Regions from separate parts of the Homo sapiens genome. Here region 1 is linked to region 2. Evidence: promoter capture Hi-C in human tissues and cell types (Jung and others, 2019). All regions are on one chromosome and are shown on one strand. The core of a region is centred on a gene start or on the middle of the fragment in contact, and the rest is flanking DNA. Distances in the headings are between cores, read along the strand shown. Region 1 overlaps OSBP (oxysterol binding protein). Region 2 holds the start of MPEG1 (macrophage expressed 1).

The links. Contacts are between HindIII fragments. The study calls those that stand out against the background at their distance.
Region 1: a fragment that was not itself captured here is called in contact with the fragment with the promoter of MPEG1 in region 2 in 1 of the 25 tissues and cell types used here (thymus).

What each region holds. Positions count from the first base shown.
Region 1 is chr11:59,600,744-59,604,239 of GRCh38, forward strand. OSBP (oxysterol binding protein) reads right to left here. Exons shown (of 14, transcript NM_002556.3): 4 at 897-1,095; 5 at 540-642; 6 at 76-130. Among named protein-coding and RNA genes, the nearest start is that of MIR3162, 7.3 kb to the left of the region's middle. The HindIII fragment of the contact is 4,373 bases long and covers 1-3,496 here.
Region 2 is chr11:59,211,655-59,214,935 of GRCh38, forward strand. It overlaps MPEG1 (macrophage expressed 1), which reads right to left and starts at 1,273. Exons shown (of 1, transcript NM_001039396.2): 1 at 1-1,273. The coding sequence starts at 1,211. It also overlaps the pseudogene RN7SL42P. RefSeq lists an enhancer at 1,250-1,449. The HindIII fragment of the contact is 9,754 bases long and covers 1-3,281 here.

The sequences.
Region 1 (3,496 bases), core at 88-2,587, 390 kb after region 2:
ACAAAAAAAAAAAAAAAATCCTTGGGAATCACAACCCACGTCCCTCACCTCTGAGATCTCCCATATAAGAATTACCTGTTCATCAAGGCTGATGTCACTGCTGGCTCCACTGATATTGCTGCCAGTACGTCTGTACAGATGGGAAACACAGGAGAATTAGAACAAAGACCAGAACTAGAGTGTGGTCCTGGACATTTCTTTACAAAGCAGAATGCCAAGTACACTGTATAAACTTATTGATGGGTGATCAAATGACGACATTTAGAGTAGGAATGAATTTAAGTATCTCTGGAGAATTTGTTTACGTAAAAAAGCTGACATTTTTTCACTTACTTAAGAAAAAGGGCCCATTCTACAAAGAGATCTTGAGACAAAAAAAAAAAAAAAAAAAGGGAAAAGGGCCCAGATTCAATATTGACAATTATAATACTCTCACTGAAATGTTTTTAACCTTTTGATGGTTAAAATATGATGCTAAAATACCACCATATTGATGGTGAAGATATGTTTATTTGCTTCAACAATCAAGGATAACTCACTTGTGGCCCAAATTTTCAGGCATGGTGATGATCTCAGGTGCATCAAAAAATTCATTCTCATCATCTTCATCGCTCATGTCCCCTTTGCCAGAGCAGCACTGATCTACAAGAAGAAAAGCCCCATTTGTTGACTTTGGTTATCTTTACCAAATGTCTGATATAGCAAGTTCTTTTAAATACTAACCACAAACACAGCAAAAAATGGTAGAAAGCAGTGGAAAATCCAGAATAAATCAATGGGTTCCAATTCCATTTCACATGACTCATTGACTGTGAAGAGTTTGGAGTTCTCCTATCAACTGCAGAAAACCATCTGGCTCACCTTAGACCAGGCTACCTGAGAGCTAAGTGTCTTACCTTTACCAGAACCCACATTGCCAGGAGTGTTTGCCGGCAGCACCGTGGCTCCTCGGAAGGCCCTCTCCAGGTGATTATGCTGCTTCGCCAGCTGCTCGAGGGTTTCTTCCAGTCGGATACGCTGGTCTCTTTCATACTGTAGTGACTTTTGCCATTTTTTACTATGGGTCTGGGCTAACATGAGGAAATCTCTGCAGGCCTGTATGGAGAAAGCGTTGACTGTGTCAGCTCAACTAGTCAGAGTTTCCCCTCAGGCTTCTGCAAGCCCATTGAGTAACCTTATTCTGGGAACTTTTAACTGGCAAATTACAATGAAAGACTTTCCCTTTTATGCCAAGGTATCAGGGACAGCTAGCTCCACGCTGAAATCAAGGTCAAACCCAGAAAAAAAGTAAATATGGTTGTCATGGTTCTTTTACACTTTCCTGGTCACGAGAACCAAACAAATGCCAAGTGAGCAGTAAACCCAGACGAAGTATTTGTGACAACATCAAAAAGAGCAGGTATGTGAACTGCACCAAAAGTAGAGAACTGCTGACTGAAAGAAGGATGAGAGCACACACAGGATAACTGCTTTCAACAAATTCTTGACTAAACTCAAGTAACTGAAAGCTAAGGACTTCAGACACTGAGAACAGAGAATCCACACTGAGGTAGACCAAGTATGGGGAAACTCATTTGGTTTTTATTTTGGTCACTAAGAGAAACAACTGACCTTAAAAATTAGGAGCCTTCAGTGTGCAGGAAGAAGGTTTAAAAAGAAAAATATTAGAAGCCTACTTGAAAAATCAAAGAAGAGGTTTAGAGAAAAAACCCACAAATATGATTATATCAAGTCCCTCCACTGGCTCCCCACTAACATGAGGATCAAATACTAACTACTGGTTATGAACATAAAGAGACCTTCATAATACGGCCATCACCTGCCTTGTATTCTCCTCGCCAGGCATGTGTACTTAGCACTGCACCCTACAATGCAGCCACACTGAACTGCTCACCATTTCTTGCACACAGATTTCTGGCACAGTCTGGAGTAGAGTGCAGATCACAGCTCACTGCAGCCTCAACCTCGTCGGGCTCAGGTGATCCTCCTACCTTAGCCCCGCTGAGCAGTTGGGACTACAGTTATGTACCACCATGGCCGACTAATTTTTGTATTTTGTAGAGATGGAATTTTGCCTTGTTACCCAGACTAGTATCGAACTCACGGACTCAAGTGATCTACCCATCTCAGCCTCCCAAAGTGTTGGGATTACAGGCATGAGCCACTGTGCCCAGTCGTGGACACAGATTTCTTTCAGGCCTACATACCTCAGCATATGCTATTCACTCTACCTAGAATGTCCATCCCTATCCCCTGTTTCTAAGAAAGGGCAAATCTTTCTTTAAGATCTATGGCAAATGCTACTTTGTGACATCTCCCCACCAGTCTCATAAGCAGCCAGTCTCTTCTCTACATTTCCACTGCATTTTGCACAAACTTCTATTTTACACATGCACAGCAGTATCGTGACTGATTTTCTATCTCTCCAGATGGATCACATGCAATTTAAAAACACATTTTTGAGTTTATTCATATATAGATCTCCAGCTCCTAATTTAGTTGCTCTGTACATAATAGGGATCTGATAAAGTTTGCTTAATAAATAAATAAAGGAAGGAGGCAAGCAACGTAAGCTTAAAAATCTATTCCCTGTTACAGAGAAGCTAAAAGGTAAACAGGATATTTACTCCCATGGTTTCAACCACTGCCTATAGGCTAATGGCTACTAAATCACTAATTCTAGCCCAGCACTTACTGAGATTCAGAATAGAATATCCAACTCCCTATTCAACGGCTCAAAGTAACTTCAAAATTAATGCATCCCAAAGTGAACTCATCACCTTCAGTTTTTTTTTTTTTTTTTTTTTTTTTGAGACATGTTCTTGCTCTGTCACCCAGGTTGGAGTGCAGTGGCACAATCATGGCTCACTGCAGCCTCAACCTCACAAGTTCAAGTGATCCTCCTACCTGAGCCTCCCAAGTAGCTGGGACTACAGGCATGAGCCACAATGCCCAGCTAATTTTTGTAGTTAATATAGAGGTGGGATTCTGCCATGTTGCTCAGGCTAATCTTTCAACTCCCAGGCTCAAGTGATCCACACCTGGGACTACAGGTGTGAGGCACCACACCCAGCCTCATCAGTTTCCTATGTTGTCTCTGCTTTTCCCTTTGATGTTCCCCAATCCAACTTTCAGGGCCCTCCCAGTTGTCCAAGCCAGAAAATTAAGGGGCATCCTTCTCTTACTTTTGCTTCCTTCCTCACAGCCAGTTATCAAGTCCTATTGATTCTTCTTTAATATTTTAAAAATCTGTACATGTCTTTCCATCCTCCTTACTCAGAAACAGTACAGAGTGCATACTCTGGAGTTGGACCGGTAGGGCTCAAATCACAGATCCATCCCACTATCTAGCTGTACAAATAAGGGTAAGTTATTTAACCTCTCTGTGCCTCATCTTCCTTTTCCATAAACAAATAGTAACAATAGAGTAACTACCTCAAAGAGTCGTTGTTTTACATGTAAGCACTTAGAACCACATTAGGCTCACAATAAACAT
Region 2 (3,281 bases), core at 23-2,522:
TTCTTCTGCTCCAACTTTTGGCAGAGGAGGACATCCCTATTCCCTGAGAGCTGAGTGCATTCCTGATAAACCCCACCGAAAGAGAAGTTGGTCATTTTCCCCTCGCAGGAGCCATCATCCGTGTTGGCCTGAAAATTGAAGTTGGGAGAATTGAGATCTGTGCAGCCAGGGTAGGTGTTGAATGTATAATAGCGCTTCACAGCAGTTTCCACTGTCTTTGACACCTTCTTCACCAGGGGGCCTGGCAAGTCAGGTAGCATGTTGGGGTTGATGAAGAAATGCAGCGGCAGGCCAGAGCGGTCGATGGCCACCAGGTGGTTGGTGATACCCTGCTGCCAGGCCTGGAGGGTGATGCCTGGGTAAAAAGGAACCCCTCCAATGCTCTGCACCCTGGAGTTGGTTCGGTTTGAGAGGTAGCTCTTGGTGAGGACATTCTGCGAGGTATAGTTTTCCTCAAATTTGAAGTTCACGGTGTTTTGAAAGGCAAGTCCAGCAGAGGCGGTCACGGCACTACGACTGCTCTGGCTGTCTTGGAGGAAGGAGGCCCTGAGGTGGTCCTCCTGAATAAGAGCAGCCCCAGCGTCGACACTGGTGGTGACGTGGGTGCCATAGTTGAGCACCAGGAGTTCTGCCAGGTAGGTGGCCATCCTCGTCTGGTTGTTCTCTAGACGGTCAGAGATGTCAAGGAGTTCCTTCCTAAAACCTGAGCTTAGCTCTAAAGTTGGGTTGATTTTGACTGTGTAGACGAGGTTTCTTACCTGAACTCGGGTAGTTATAGCTTGGTCCTTCACTTGGAGGGTCTTCATCCTCTGGAACTCAGTGGAAAACTTGCCATTGACTTTGGAAAAAAGAGAGAGTTCTGTGTTGATGGAGTAGGAGGTGCTACTCTGGTAATTTGCCCAGGATTCCAGGATTTCTGAGTTCATCTCCAGGTTGCTCTGTTTCTGGGGAATGGTGAAGATTTCATCAGGGATGATATACTGTCCATCCTCTGTTGTCCTGCAGTTGGAGTAAGTCAATTCCATAACTCGTCCCATGTCCACATTCCGCAGATTGTCCCAGCCCCCTCCAGGTAGGACTTCCAGGACAGGTAGTTTCAAGGCATTCTTGCATTTTTGAACTCCAACTTCGTCCATCTCTCCCGAAGGCTTGCCTGATTTAGCCCATGCTGCCGCTGCCCAGAAGAGGATGGTGGCCCTGAAGTTGTTCATGGCTCAGACAGCCCCAGCCACTCACCAGCCCTACACAGCGGCCAGCAAGCTTTGGGCAAACTAAGATGGAGAAAACAGAAGCAGATGATGAAGCGGAAAACTCATGAGTTCTCTAAAAGCTACAAGTTCCTCTTTAAGCTAATTTAATGACAAAATGGGGAAACGAGAGTTGGTTGGAATATTAAAGACCATCAGGTCTTTGAAGAATTTATGCCGTACTAAACATGCAAACACACCCCTACATGCCTAACAGGTAGCTATCCTAATTTTTCCCCCAGCTCTGGCTGGTTACTCTGCTGCAGGGGTGTGCACTTAGAAAAAAATCCCGACCCCACACCCTACTGCTTCCTCCACCAGAAAGTTTGGCTTTGCTTTTTGCTCATTCTCTTGGACTTGATGTTTCATATTTTCCCTGACTGCTGTCTCTTGGGACTCCATTATCAGTTTTCTTTTACTATAAATGCAGAGGCAAATGACCACACCACCCTTACTGAAACACCCTGGCTCCACCATACCTATGCAAGCTGTTAGTCAAGGCCAACCCTGGGTTTCCTCTTTGCCTGAGGGTGGAGGCTGTTTCCACAAAAGAAAGGAGTGAAACTCTTGGACACTTGTCCTGTGGGTTTCACTGTTATGAACCATAGCAATTCTGTCTTTGGGGATGGCATTGTCTGGAGCACAGCTGACAGGGCCTGAAGAGGATTCGGTTGCAATATGCTGGGAAACCCCAATTTGCATTGTCCTAAGCATTCAAAGCGAGGGCAAGGAACTCCTACACTGTGTTGTTTTCATTCAGATAGAAATGTTCAAGACAAAACCACACTATTATCTAGATTTTGATTTATCAACAGCAGACAGGGGCCAAGGAACATATGTGTATGTGTACACACATTTATATATCCTCTGTGTGTGTGCATTTTGTATGAAGTTGGTACCTGTTATACCTTTAATTTTTTGTTCCATTGCTAAGTGTGTGTAATCAGTTTAGGTGGATAAAAAAGAATGTGGCTCTTCACTACCCAATATTTTTTCTAAAAGCAAAAATTCATTTGCTATATCATTAGAAGAATATAATTACATGAGTTTCTTTTCAAGTTCCAATGCCAGCTCTATTAGAGCCCATAATTTAAAACAATGGTGACAGGTTTGATTGAAACCCAACTCTGTTAATTCTTTGGGACAATTAGGCTATGTCTTAGTATGCTTAGTGGTAGCCAGGGAATCCAGAGGACTTAGTGAAGCTCCCAGTTGCATCCTTAACATTCCCAAGATTATACCATGAACTAGATACAGTACTGAGACTGAAAAAGTCATGTTGCAATTCACAGGTATCACTACACCATCACCTGTATGCATCCTGGAAGGAAGGTTCCAAGGAGTTGAATTCCTCTGTTGGTTATTAATGCAGCAAAGAAGTGTTTTTAGAAAGAATGAGGCTAGTTATCTTGCTTCCCAGGCTGGGCTTCACCAGTTATTATCAAAACCATGATGGTGTTCTATAAATCTAGAAATACTGCATTCCGGGTATATTTTTTTTTCCAAGACAGGGTCTTGCTTATTGCCCAGGCTTGAGTGCAGTAGCTATTCACAGGCATGGTCCCACTACTAATCAGCATAGGAGTTTTGACCTGCTCCATTTCCAACCTGGACCCGTTTAGCCCTCCTTAGGCAACCTGGTGATTTGCTCCAAGGAGGCCACCATATTGATGCTGAGCTTAGTGCAGACACCCAACTGGCATAGCACACTACAGCCCAGAACTCATGGATTCAAGCAATCCTCCCACATCAGCTTCCCAGGAATCTGGGACTGCAGTCATGCACCACCACACCTGGCCATTCTGGTTCTATTTGTGCCACAGTTATCATGCTTCTGGGAAGTGACACCAGCCACCTAAGAGGGATTAATTTATGAACCAGTGCCTAGTCTGTATTTGGCTAAAGAACCAAATCTTTGCACAGGATGTTCTAGTTAATTTATAAATCAGTTAGCCATAAATTTATACCTCAGCAGCATGATCCCAGAATTAGAAAAATGAGAGTTGAATGCCCTTGAGTACTTCCAATAAGTCT